5 separate regions of the Homo sapiens genome follow, and regions 2, 3, 4 and 5 are each linked to region 1. The links are contacts of gene promoters, found by promoter capture Hi-C in blood cells and fetal thymus (Javierre and others, 2016). All regions are on one chromosome and are shown on one strand. Each heading gives the region's core, a stretch centred on a gene start or on the middle of the fragment in contact. The rest is flanking DNA. Distances are from core to core; before and after follow the strand shown.

Region 1 (2,700 bases), core at 174-2,673:
CCCAGTACATTGACGGACTATATTGGGAGTCCCTAAGCAAATGCCTGCAGGGACCAGGCAGTTAATACAGCAAACTTCAGAGGCTCATCTGCTTTAGCCAGTTCTTGCCATGGTATGGTGGAATCATTGTTGCCACATCTGATTTCTCAAGAGAAGCTTTAAAATCCAATTTGTATGTGTGTATGTATGAGTATGTACATGAGAAAGCTTTCAGTTTTAAAATGTTGGCTCAGATTTTTAAAAAGCAGACCAAAGACTTATATTCCACCTCTGCTCTAGACTTAGAGAATCTGTTCAGGATAAAGCTTAAAGAAAAGATGACAATGGAAAAGAGTCATTGGTCAAGTATTAAGTACTGACACTTAGGGTTTCCTGAATATAGTAGTGAGTGCTACTTTAGAAGAGATTCCCTCTAGTTCAAATGCAGTTACAATCTCCAAATACATGCTAGCAACTCACGATTTAAATTCTCTTTGACATAATTTGTATGGTTCAATCTCCCTCATCCTGCTTTTCTTCTTTTTCTTTCTTTCCTTTCCTTTCTTCCTTTCCTTCTCTTTCCCCTCCCCTCCCCTCTTTTTGTTTTTAACAGATGGGGTTTTACTATGTTGCCCAAGCTGGAGTGCAGTGGCAATTCAGAGTGCAGTGGCAATTCACAGTGTGATCATAGCTCACTGCAATCTTGAATTCCTGGCCTGAAGCTATCCTCCAGCCGTAGCCTCCCAAGTAGGTGGGAATACAGGCATGCACCACTGTGCTCAGCTCTGCCCTCCCTTTTTAAAGGTCAGACTGAAGTTTCAGTTTTCTGTATCCATAGAGCTGACTTTGCTCAGGAAATTTACAACTTACCTAATTTGAACGCAGCTGGCCAAGTCTGTATTTCCCTCCAGGAATGTGCACAGTTGTGTTCAGACCGTTTAGCAGGTTGGGGTGTGGAGGAAGACAGATGAATAGTAGGGGCTTTACTCCAGCCTCTAGCTGGGGATTTTCTAAGATACTGTCTTCAGAAAAGGAAACATAGCTCGAAGTTGTACCTACATGGAAGGACCTCATCCTCCAGGTGGCAAAAATTTGTAGTATGCCTGTTAGAATGAGGTTCCTTCCTGAAACTTCTGGGAGATCTAGAATTTAAAGCTATGTCATTCTCTTGTAGGTAATCAGAAATCAATTGGAAATTCCTGCTTGAAGAGATAGATATTCTTGCCCCACCTCAATCCTTCCAGCACAGATTTGGGAGATACCCCCCTTTCCAGTGAAGGCCTAAGTGTCCAGTGCCCCCACTCACCTTCTGAGGCATGTAGGGCCGCACAGACAGCCAAGGCCACGATGGCGAGTCCTCTCTGCTGCATTCCTGCCTGCCCTACTGGCACTGACAGCAACACAAGTGAGGCTGTTCGATCAGGAAATGAGGCTAAAGGTGTCCTTGGGCACAGAGAAAGTGCAGAGGAAAAGTAAGCCAGGTGGCCCCGCCCTGGGAGGTGTTCAGGGTATCTATTTCTCATGTTTCTTTCCTTAAGACCAGGCTCCTCCTCGACTTATTAAGCTCCTAACTTGTGTTCATCCTGCCTGGGGGTCAGGGGATGTCAATGGAGATCTGGCAGCTGGCAGGGTCACTGTGAGGTGGGGTGTGCATCAGAATCATTTGGGGAACATTAAAAAAAATCAATCTAAATGACTCTCCCCTTTCCCTGATTTGTAAACCAGAACTCCCAGGTAGGAGACCAGTCATTTGAATTTTGTAAAAGCTCTATAGGTGATTCTGATGGACACTTATGTTGAGACCCATTGCATAATCAGTTTTTAAGTAGCTTATGGAAACCATGAGTTTCTGGGGACAAGGGTGACAAGTCATAAAAAATGTATCTTTGTGGAAAGATATGGAAGTATTAAACCCCACTTTAGTCTTGGTTCACAGCCAAATTGTTTCCAGTGAAGCTTTTTACAATAGCTTATTTAGGAGAAAGACAGGAAGGGGGGCAATGCCTTGTAGAAAAGAGCCCAAGAGCAGGTGTGAAGAGGCATGAGCGCTAGTGCAGCTTTGCTGCCAATCAGCTTTGTGAATAAAAGCATGGGGTAGCATGAAGATAATTGGATTCTAATTGTTCCTCATCTACTAATAAGTTGTATAACCTCAGGCAACGTACTTAACTTTGCTGTAAATAACAAGTCAGACTAGATGACCTCCAAAGTCATGCCATGCTTCCTCTAGAACTGTGTTGTCCTATGTGGTAGCCGCTAGCCCACATGTGGCTCTTGAGCACTTGAAATATGAGTAGTCCAAACTCAGATGTACTATGGGTATAAAATTCACACTGGATTTCAAAGACTGGGTACAGAAAAAAATATAAAATATCTTGTTAATAATGTTTATACTGTTTATTGATTACATGATAGTATTTTGGACTTTTTGGGTTAAATAAAATATATTATTAAAATTAATTTCACCCATTTCTTTTTATGTTTTCAAATTACTGCTGTGGTTTGAATATTTTTTTCTTCTCCAAAGCTCATGTTGAAAATTAATCCCTAATAGTGCTGGGAGATAGGGCCTAATGGACAATGTTTAGGTTATGATGGCTCCACCCTCATGAATGGATGAATGCTACTATAAAAAGGGCTTGTGGGAATGGGTTGGTACCTTCTGCTCTTCTGCCAGGTGAGTACACAATGCTCCTTCTCTCCAAAAGATGCAGCAAAGTG
Region 2 (2,700 bases), core at 97-2,596, 330 kb before region 1:
TTGGATGTATAGGTTTGTGTGTCTTCAGTATTGTCTTGTATTTTAAGACAGAATTAGATGTGCCCATCAGAAATGAGTGTATGGCATGAAAAAGTTGCAGATGGTAGGCCGCAGTGAACTCCAATTGTTTGGAAGGCTTAACTTGAACCTTCCTAGGCTAGAGAATTTTAAATGACTGAGATGTTTCTAATGTGCCTAGAGCTTCTTTTCTAATGAGCCCAGGGAGGGCTAGAATCTCTATCAGAGTTAGTCTGGGATGTAAAGGGGATCAGGATGTGCCACCCCAATATATGCCACTTTAGCCTATGGATTATTTTGAGCAGTTAAAAAATTAGAAATAGCAGGCCTGGTGCAGTGGCTCATGCCTGTAATCTTAGCACTTTGGGAGACCGAGGCAGGTGGATCACCTGAAGTCAAGAGTTCGAGACCAGCCTGGCCAACATGGTGAAACCCCATCTCTACTAAAAAAAAAAAAAAAAAAAAAATACAAAAATTAGCCAGGCGTGGTGTGGCACGCCTGTAATACCAGCTACTCAGGAGGCTGAGGAAGGAGAATTGCTTGAAGCCAGGAGGTAGAGGTTGCAATGAGCCAAGATCGTACCACTGCACTCCAGCCTGCGTGATGGGAGCGAGACTCCATCTCAAAAAAAAAAGAGAAAAAAAGAAATTAGAAATAGCAGACATATGAGGATCTCTGACCTCCCTTTCCTGCTGAAAAGCAGGGCATACATTTTGCTTTTGTAAAAAAATTTGCATTTATAAAAGCTTCCACCTCTCCCCTACCTGGAAGAGAAGGAAACTCTTCTACTCTAATACTTGAAGGGGGCCTGCCTCTCCACACCTGTGGGTATTTCTTGCAAGGTGGAGACGAGACACTGAGAAAAGAAATAAGACACAGAGACAGTATAGAGGAAGAAAAGTGGGCCAAGGGGACTGGTGCTCAGCAAGTGAGGACCTGCACCAGCATTGGTCTCTGAGTTCCCTCAGTATTTATTGATCACTATCTCTACTATCTTGGCGAGGGGGATGTGGCAGGACTATAGGGTAATGGTGGCCAGAGGGTCAGCAGGAAAACATGTGAGCAAAGGACTCTGTGTCATAAATAAGTTTAAGGAAAGGTGCTGTGCCTGGATGTGCACATAGGCCAGATTTATGTTTGACTTTACACAGACATCTCAGTGCAGTAAAGAGCAGTATTGCCGCCAGCAGGTCTCACTTCCAGCCATAAGGCAGTTTTCTCCTATCTCAGTAAATAGAATATATGATCAGGTTTTACACTGAGACATTCCATTCCCAGGGACAAGCAGGAGACAGATGCCTTCCTCTTGTCTCAGCTGCAAAGAGGCCTTCCTCTTTCACTAATCCTCCTCAGCACGGACCCTTTATGGGTGTCGGGCTGGGGGATGGAGGTCTTTCCTTTCCTACAAGGCCATATCTCAGGCTATCTCAGTGGCGGGAAACCTTAGACAATACCCAGGCTTTCTTGGGCAGAGGTCCCTGTGGCCTTCCACAGTGCATTGTGTCCCTGGGTACTTGAGATTGGAGAATGGTGATGACTTTTACCAAGCATACTGCCTGCAAACATTTTTACCAAGGCACATCCTGCACAGCCCTAAATCCATTAAATCTTGAGTCAATATAGCACATGTTTCTGCGAGCACAGGGTTGGGGCTAGGGTTACAGATTAACAGCATCTCAAGGCAGAAGAATTTTTCTTAGTACAGATCAAAATGGAGTTTCTTATGTCTTCCTTTTTCTACATAGACACAGTAACAGTCTGATCTCTCTTTCTTTCCCCCACAATGCTTGTTTGAGGACATGTATTATCACCAGAGAGGACTTGAAACTGCATAACAAACCGTACTTGCCAGACATTTCCTAATCACCTTCTCACTGTTTACTCCCTCCCCCTATAATCGATAATCGCAAAGCTTCCTTTCCCTTTGACTATTCTATTCTCTTCACAATTTATCACCCCTTGTTAAATGGTATATAAGCCCCCAGCCCTAAACTCCTACTTGGGTTTTCACTTCTCTTTTGTGAAGCCTCATTATGTATGCAAAATAAAATTTTTCTACTGTTAATCTGTCGTTTATCAGTTTAAGTGACAGGCTGGGGCTGGGCGCCGTGGCTCACGCCTGTAATCCCAGCACTTTCGGGAGGCCGAGGTGGCCGGATCACGAGGTCAGGAGATCGAGACCATCCTGGCTAACACAGTGAAACCCCGTCTCTACTAAAAAATACAAAAAATTAGACGGGCGTGGGCCGGTCGCGGTGGCTCCCGGCTGTAATCCTAGCACTTTGGGAGGCCGAGGCGGGCGGATCACGAGGTCAGGAGATGGAGACCATCCTGGCTAACACGGTGAAACCCCGTCTCTACTAAAAATACAGAAAATTAGCCGGACGAGGTGGCGGGCCCTGTAGTCCCAGCTACTCGGGAGGCTGAGGCAAGAGAATGGCGTGAACCCCAGGGGGCGGAGCCTGCAGTGAGCCGAGATTGCGCCCCACTGCACTCCAGCCTGGGCAACAGCGAGACTACGTCTCAAAAAAAAAAAAAAAAAAAATTAGCCGGGTGTGGTGGCGGGCGCCTGTAGTCTCAGCTACTCGGCAGGCTGAGGCAGGAGAATGGCGTGAACCCCGGAGGCAGAGCTTGCAGTGAGCCAAGATTGTGCCACTGCACTCCAGCCTGGGCGACAGAGC
Region 3 (2,700 bases), core at 118-2,617, 280 kb before region 1:
GGAAATTAGGAGAACAATCCCATTTATATTGACACCATAAAGAATAAAGTAACTGGGAATAGGCTTAACCTTTCACCTCCTTAGGTGAGAGACATGCAATACTGAGAACCATAAAACATTAAAGAAATTGGGCTGGGCACAGTGGCTCACGCCTGTAATCCCAGCACTTTGGGAGGCGGAGGCGGGTGGATTGCTTGAGGTCAGGAGTTCAAGACCAGCCTGAACAACATGGTGAAACCCTGTCTCTTCCGGAAAAAAATACAAAAATTAGCTGGTTATGGTGGCCCATTCCTGTAGTCCCAGCTATTCGGGAGGCTGAGGTTGCAGTGAGCATGGATTGCACCACTGCACTCGAGCCTGGGCGACAGAGCGAGACTCCGTCTCAAAAAAGAAAAAAGAAACTAAAGACACTCAATAGATCTTCATGGATTTGGAACACTCAGTATTGTTAAATTGTCCATACAGATTGAGCATCTCAAATTTGAAAATCTGAACTGCTTGCCAGGTGCAGTGGCTCACGCCTATAGTCCCAGCACTTTGGGAGGCCGAGGCGGGCATATCACAATTTCAGGAGTTCAAGACCAGCTGGCCAACGTAGTGAAACCCTGTCTCTACTAAAAATATAAAAATTAGGTGGGTATGGTGGTGCGTGCCTGTAGTCCCAGCTACTTGGGAGGCTGAGGAAGGAGAATCGCTTGAACCCGGGAGGTGGTGGTTGCGGTGAGCCGAGCCTCTGTACTCCAGCTCGGGCAACAGAGTGAGACTTGGTCTCGAAGAAGAAAAAATGAACTGCTATAAAATTTGAAACTTTCTGAGCATCAACATGACTCAACGGAAATGCTTGTTGGAGCATTTTGGATTTCGGATTTTCAGATTTGGGATGCTCAACCTGTGTCAAGTATAATGCAAATATTTCAAAATCCAAAACAGTTGTGATCCCAAGCTTTTCATATGAGGGATATTCAGCCTGTATTACAGAAAGTGGGCTACAGATTCAATACAGTCCCTCTCAAAATCCTGATGGAATTTTTTTTGTTTTATGGAAACAGGAAAAGCAGTTCTAAAATTCATATGGAACCACAGAAAATCATGGACTAGCCAAATCAATCTTGAAAAAGAACAAAGCTAGAGGCATCATACTTTTTTTTTTTTTTTTTTTTTTTTTTTTTTGAGGTAGTCTTACTGTGTTGCCCAGGCTGAAGTGCAGTGGTGTAATCTTGGCCCACTGCAGCCTTAGCCTCCCAAGTAGCTGGGATTACAGGTGCGTGCCACCACCCCCATCTAATTTTTTTCTTTTTTTCTTTTTTCTTTTTCTTTTTTTTTTTTTTTTAGTAGAGACGGAGTTTCACCATATCGACCAGGCTGATCTCGAACTCCTGACCTCAGGTGATCCACCAGCCTTGGCCTCCCAAGGTGCTGGGATTACAGGCATGAGCCACTGCACCCAGCTGACATGATACTTCTTGATATCAAAATATTTTACAGAGCTACAATAACCAAAACAGTATGGGACTAGCTTAAAGAGACATACAGACCAAAGGAGCAGAATAGAGAGCCCACAAATAAAAACATGCAAATAATATGGTCAACTGATCTTCAGGGATGCCAAGAATGCACAATAAGGAAGGAATGTTTTCTGCAACAAATGATGTTGGAAGAACTAGGTATTCACATGAAAAAAGATGAAATTGGACCCCTATCTTCTACCATAAAAAAGAAAAAAACTCAAAATGAATTGGAGACTTAGACATAAGACCAAAAAATGTAAATCTCCTGGAAGAAAACATGAGGGGAAGCTTCACCACATCATTCTTAGTAATTTCGTGGATGTGACGTCAAAAGCACAGCCAACAACAGAAAATAAGACAGGTGGGACTACATCAAACTAAAAAGCTTCTGTACAGCAAAGGAAACAACTGAGTGAAAAGGAAATCTAAGGAATGGGAGAAAGTATTTGCAGAACCAAATAAATGATAAGGAATGAATCCCAAAAATATATGAGAAACTCCCACAACTGATAGTAAAAAATATCTGCCCAATTAAAAACAGTCTAAATGATGCAGAAAAAAATTAAATTAAAAATGTTTTTTTAAATGTGCTAAGAACTTGAATAGACATTTCTCCAAACAGATGGCCAACAGATACATGAAAAAAAAGTTCAGTGTCACTAGGCATCAAGGAAATGCAAATCAAAACCACTATGAGGTATCAGTCACTTCACACCTTTCAGGATGGCTATCAAAAAAAAAAAGACAACTAGTATTGGTGAGGATATAAATAAATTGGAATCCTTGCACAATGTTGGCAGGAATAGGTGCAGCCATTATGGAAAACAGTATGAATGTTCCTTAAAAAATTAAAATACCATACAATTCAGCAATCCCACTTGCTGAACATTTATCCAAAAGAACTGAAATCAGGATCTTGAAGTTTTAGCACTCCTATGTTCATTGCAGCACTATTTACAGTAGCCACGAGAGGAAATAAATATTCGTCAACAGATTAATGGATAAAGAAAATGTAGTATATGTATCCAATGGAATACTATTCAGCTCTTAAGAACAAGGATATTCTGCATATGCAACCACATGGATGAACCTTGAGGACATTATGCTAAGTGAAGTAAGCCAGTCACAGACATAAACTGCATATTTCTATTTATATGAGGAATCTAAAATAGTCACTTCCACTCATATGAGC
Region 4 (2,700 bases), core at 57-2,556, 310 kb before region 1:
TACTCAGGAGGCTGAGACAGGAGAATTGCTTGAACCCGAGAGGCAGAGGCGGCAGTGAGCCGAGAACGCGCCATTGCACTCTAGCCCGGGCGACAAGAGTGAAACTCCATCTCAAAAACAAAAACAAAAAGAAAAACAAACAAACAAACAAACAAAAAAACAGTAGAAAACCTAATGAGAAACCATGGCACAGGAAAACAGAATAGCAGAACGGTCAGAGGAAGCATAGCACTAGAAGTTTACCTATTTGAAAGATTTATGAGACACTTAAGACAGAAGAGCTCTGCCTGTCTGGTTAAAATGGTGGGACAGACAAGATTTATTTGAGCTCAGCAGCACTTGAAGTCCACTGGAGAGGTGTAGAGCAGCTAGCCCATGTTATGGTTGCAATGGAAAAAAGTCAATAGGGTGAGAATCAAGAATGGATCCATCTTGTGGATGATGACATCATTCAGCAACAAGGTACAATTGCTACAATAGAGGATCATATTTCCAAGCCAGGTCCAAAGAGGCATCAGGGCTGTCAAGCTTAGGTATAAATGTTGACAGAATCTTCCTTTGGATTACCTAAGGCTCTGAATTTCTGGGAAGATCTTGATGCCCTCTAACCCCAGCAAATTGATGCTAGCTATACATTGAATCTGACAGTGGCAGCTCAAACAGATTTTAAACACATCTTGTATGTATCCATTCATACACATTTACATATTAAAAACATGTCTTCAAGTTTGAGCTTTCTTGGTGTATCTCAGGTACCTTTTGACATGGTTCTCTTTTTATTGTATGTACTAATAGAGTGAGAACCTACTTATTACTTGGGGGCTGCACCAAGCCATTCATGATAGCTCGACCCCCATGACCCAAACACCTCCCTTTAGGTCCCACTTCCAATATTATCAAAATCTTTTTTATTTTATTTATTTATTTATTTATTTATTTATTTTTTGAGATGGAGTCTTACTCTGTTGCCCAGGCTGGAGTGCAGTGGCGCGATCTTGGCTCACTGCAAGCTCCACCTCCTGGGTTCATGCCATTCTCCCGCCTCAGCCTCCCAAGTAGCTGGGACTACAGGTGCCCGCCACCACGCCTGGGTAATTTTGTGTGTGTGTGTGTGTGTGTGTGTGTATTTTTAGTAGGGACGAGGTTTCACTGTGTTAGCCAAGATGGTCTTGATCTCCTGACCTTGTGATCCGCCCGCCTCAGCCTCCCAAAGTGCTGGGATTACAGGTGTGAGCCACCGCGCCTGGCCTTTTTTATTTTTATCAAGACAGGGGTCTCTCTGTGTTGCCCAGGCTGGTCTTGAACTCCTGGCCACAAGCTATCCTCCCACCTTGGCTTCCCAAAGTGCTGGGATTACAGGTGTAAGCCACTGCTCTGTCCCGAACCAAATTTCAACATGAGATTTGGAGGGGGACAAATATTCAAACAATATCATTGAGATTAAAAATTATTAGAGAAGTTTCAGGGTTAGAGCCATGCTTCAGTTTAATCCTCAGTATAAGAATTATGTAGAACTAAGACAAAATGATGAGGAAAAGATTGCTAGAATAATAAGGAATTGTTATATATCATGGAAATATTGACACAAAACTATCAAAAATAATTGAGGGCCGGGTGTGGAGGCTCATGCCTGTAATCCCAGTACTTTAGGAGGCCGAGGCAGGTGGATCACAAGGTCAGCAGATTGAGACCATCCTGGCTAACACGGTGAAACCCCGTCTCTACTAAAAATACAAAAAATTAGCTGGGTGTGGTGGCAGGCACCTGTAGTCCCAGCTACTCAGGAGGCTGAGGCAGGAGAATGGTGTGAACCTTGGAGGTGGAGCTTGCAGTGAGCCGAGATGGCGCCACTGCAGTCTAGCCTGGGTGACAGAGCAAGACTCTGTCTCAAAATAAATAAATAAAAAATAATAATTATTGAAGCTGGACGTGGTGGATCATGCCTGTAATCCCAACACTTTGGGAAACCAAGGCAAATCTTTGGTTTCTGATGACCCAGAAGTGTAAAAGTACAAAACTGGAAGACTATTGCATCCTTCTCCTCACTCTCAGCACAGATGTATTGTTTCACCATCTAGGAGCTTGAAGCTTTGAAGGACTGTAAGTTTATCTGCATGCAAGAGCAGAGATCCCAGGTTACTGCCTGCCTGCACAGGACAGAAGTCTGGACAGCTTCCATGTGCTGAGTGATACTCAGAGAACACCCAGTTTTGCTAAGATGGGAACTACTCTGTGTGCAGGGAAATGACTGGGACTCAGAGACTTTCTCATTGCCATGAGCATTTTGGAAGGCTGTCCAGACAGGCCTGTCTGTGGACAGATGTCCCAGTTTCAAGTGCCTTCAAGGGAAGTGAGTGCTACAAACAATGTGGCTGAGTGAGACTAAGAAAAGCCAGAAGACACAAGAGCTGACAGACATGAGAGACTAGGGTCATGTTGTCCATATGGACAGGGATCCTGGAACTCTGCCCTTCTCTAAAGGCTTTTCTTTCCTACTTAACATCCTGCCCTCTCAGCACTGGTGCTATAGCCACCAGCCTGCCCAATGCTGAGTTCTTCTTACTGCACATGCCACCTCTTGGATATCTTTCAAATCATGTATCCCATTTTATTTCCAAGGGCTTAATCATTTTGGAATTTGCAGTTGCACTCTAACTTATTTTTTCCCAATCCTTTATTGAAAAGCACATTTGAGCCAGG
Region 5 (2,700 bases), core at 45-2,544, 290 kb before region 1:
CAAACTCAAATGCTTTCAGGGACTAAGCAAATAAGGAAAATGAATGATAGCTGAGTCTAAAACATTAGAAATTGGTGGGGATTATAGGGAACTGGACAGCTCAAATCCTATGTAGAAAAGGGTTCTCCATTTGGTTAAATTCAATTGCTGTAAAAGAAGAGCGGTCCTATATACTGGAATTTCCAAAAAGCCTATTTTTGTGTCCAATTTCTTCATCTTAAGAAATACCGTGGCCAGGCACGGTGGCTCATGCCTGTAATCCCAGCCCTTTGAGAGGCGGAGGCAGGCGATCACCTGAGGTCAGAAGTTCGAGACCAGGCTGGCCAACATGGCAAAACTCTATCTCTACTACAAATACAAAAAATTAGCCAGGCATGGTGGCAGGCTGTGTGAATAATAACAATTATGATAATATTTAATTTAATTTATGTGTTATTTTATATTTATTTTTTTTTTGAGGCAGAGTCTTGCTCTGTCACCCAGGCTGGAGTGCAGTGGCACGATCTCGGCTCACGCCATTCTTCTGCCTCAGCCTTCCCAGTAGCTGGAACCACAGGTGCCCGCCACCATGCCCGGCTAATTTTTTTGTATTTTTAGTGGAGACGGGGTTTCACCGTGTTAGCAAGGATGGTCTCGATCTCCTGACCTCGTGATCTGTCCGCCTCAGCCACCCAAAGTGCTGGGATTACAGGCGTGAGCCACTGCGCCCAGCGTATTTTTTTTTTTTTTTTTTTTTGAGACAGACTCTCGCTCTGTTGCTCAGGCTGGAGTGCAGTGGCACGGTCCCAGCTCACTGCAACCTCCGCCTCCCGAGTTCAAGCGATTCTCTTGCCTCAGCCTCCCGAGTAGCTGGGATTACAGGCGCATGCCACCATGCCCGGCTAATTTTTGTATTTTTAGTAAAGACAGGGTTTCACCGTGTTGGTCAGGCTGGTCTCAAACTCCTGACCTCATGATCCACCCACCTCGGCCTCCCAAAGTGCTGGGATTACAGGCATGAGCCACCAGCTGATGATAATATTTTAAAACACCAATTCAATCTACAAGCAGCTAGCCTATCACTCCTGCAGACTCTCTTTAAACAATCCCATCTATTCTTAACACTTCAATATTCCTTTTATGCTGTAAACTTGCAAATCTCTATCTCTACGGTTAGTCTTCTTCCCTAAACTATATGTAGGCCCATATATCCAAGGGCCTCTAACATTATCTCCTTATAATAACACCTCTGGTTCCATCCTCTCTCCCCATCCAGCTCCGCCAGTTGTATTTCCTATTTTGGTAGATGGTGCCAACAATCTACTGGCTCAAGCCAGAAATCCAGGAGCCATCTTTGACTATTCTTTCTCCCTTGTCACCAATATATCCAGCAATATTTATTTAGTATCTATGGCATGCTTTACAGCCAATGTTGGTTCTATCTCTAGATTTTTTTTTTTTTTTTTGAGACAGGGTCTCACTCTGTTGCCCAGGCTGGAGTGAAGTGGCACCATCTTAGCTCACTGCAGCCTCAACCTCCCTGAGCTCAAGTGATCCTCCCACCCCAGTCTTCCAAGTAGCTGAAACAATAGGTGCACACCATCACTAATTTTTTTGTATTTTGTAGAGACGATGTTTCACCATGTCACCCAGGCTGGTCTTGAACACCTGGGTTCCAGCGATCCTCCCCGACTGGGCCTCCCAAAGTGATGGGATTACAGGCCTGAACCACTGCGCCCAGCCTATCTCTAGATTCTGACCAGCTCTCTAATTCCATTTTCCCCCATGGTTTCATCTACATTACTAACAGTCTCCCAGTTGATCTCTATTCCTAGCAGCTTGTCCCATTTAATCTGTTCTCCATATTGGGGCTAGAATTATCTCTTTAAAAAGTACATCTTAGGATGTCACCATGCGGCAAGGCTTCCCCTTGCAAAAAGAAAATCTGACATCTTCAACACTTTTTATAAGGCACCCTTGTGCGTCTATCCAGCAACATTGTTTCAGTTTCCTGAATGCTATAATCTTGGTGCCTTTGCATGTGCTATACTTTTGGCTAAGAACACTTAGACTTCACATCACTTAAAAACATTTTTTGTTTTAATACAGATGGGGTCTCGCTATGTGCCCAGGCTGGCCTCAAACTCCTGGGCTGAACTCCTCCTCCCCAACTCGGCCTCCCAAAGTGCTGGGATTACAAGCGTGAGCCACCGCGCCCGCCCACATCTCTTCTTACAGGTCAACTGGCTTTCCTTGACACCCAGTTACTTCGTTCTTCAGGTGTTGCAAAACTCATCAGCAAGCACCTAGGCAATTACTGTTCAAAATATCTATGCAGTCTACTAGACTTAAGATTCAGAAAGGCAGAAACCACATATACCTTGTTCACAGCTGGACTTCTCAGTGTCTAGTACTAGGATTCTCAATACATATCTGTTGAAGTTATGATGACATTATTACCATATAGCTATTTGAGTTCCTCCGTAATCCCAATTCTCAAGTTCTTTGAGAGAAAAAAATAAGTAAATCTCAATTATAGAATTATCCTCAAAATGTATTTATATATAATATTTCTTTGGAGGAATTAAGGAAGCAGTCACATGCAGCTGACTGTGGGTCACTGGACTTTTTTTTTTTTTTGAGACGTTGTCTCGCTCTGTCGCCCAGGCTGGAATGCAGTGGCACTACCTCAGCTCACTACAACCTCCACCTCCCCGCTTC

Evidence for each region. Contacts are between HindIII fragments. The CHiCAGO score rates a contact against its expected background, and 5 or more counts as called.
Region 2: a contact is called between a fragment that was not itself captured here and the fragment with the promoter of CCL28 in region 1, in 1 of 17 cell types (erythroblasts). The highest score is 5.2, in erythroblasts.
Region 3: a contact is called between a fragment that was not itself captured here and the fragment with the promoter of CCL28 in region 1, in 3 of 17 cell types (erythroblasts, M1 macrophages and megakaryocytes). The highest score is 9.3, in erythroblasts.
Region 4: a contact is called between a fragment that was not itself captured here and the fragment with the promoter of CCL28 in region 1, in 3 of 17 cell types (erythroblasts, M1 macrophages and M2 macrophages). The highest score is 6.9, in erythroblasts.
Region 5: a fragment that was not itself captured here is called in contact with the fragment with the promoter of CCL28 in region 1 in 3 of 17 cell types (erythroblasts, M1 macrophages and M2 macrophages); the score reaches 6.3 in erythroblasts.

What each region holds. Positions count from the first base shown.
Region 1 is chr5:43,410,968-43,413,667 of GRCh38, forward strand. CCL28 (C-C motif chemokine ligand 28) reads right to left here and starts at 1,424. Exons shown (of 3, transcript NM_148672.3): 1 at 1,286-1,424. The coding sequence starts at 1,349. The HindIII fragment of the contact is 1,630 bases long and covers 304-1,933 here.
Region 2 is chr5:43,076,205-43,078,904 of GRCh38, forward strand. All of the region lies in intron 2 of LOC100506639 (a long non-coding RNA gene), which reads left to right. Among named protein-coding and RNA genes, the nearest start is that of ANXA2R-OT1, 10 kb to the left of the region's middle. RefSeq lists an enhancer at 1,904-2,457. The HindIII fragment of the contact is 1,166 bases long and covers 764-1,929 here.
Region 3 is chr5:43,135,337-43,138,036 of GRCh38, forward strand. The region is part of intron 3 of ZNF131 (zinc finger protein 131); the gene reads left to right. Among named protein-coding and RNA genes, the nearest start is that of ZNF131, 16 kb to the left of the region's middle. The HindIII fragment of the contact is 853 bases long and covers 942-1,794 here.
Region 4 is chr5:43,099,431-43,102,130 of GRCh38, forward strand. No RefSeq gene overlaps it. Among named protein-coding and RNA genes, the nearest start is that of ZNF131, 20 kb to the right of the region's middle. The HindIII fragment of the contact is 1,560 bases long and covers 527-2,086 here.
Region 5 is chr5:43,117,835-43,120,534 of GRCh38, forward strand. No RefSeq gene overlaps it. Among named protein-coding and RNA genes, the nearest start is that of ZNF131, 1.7 kb to the right of the region's middle. The HindIII fragment of the contact is 6,749 bases long and covers 1-2,700 here.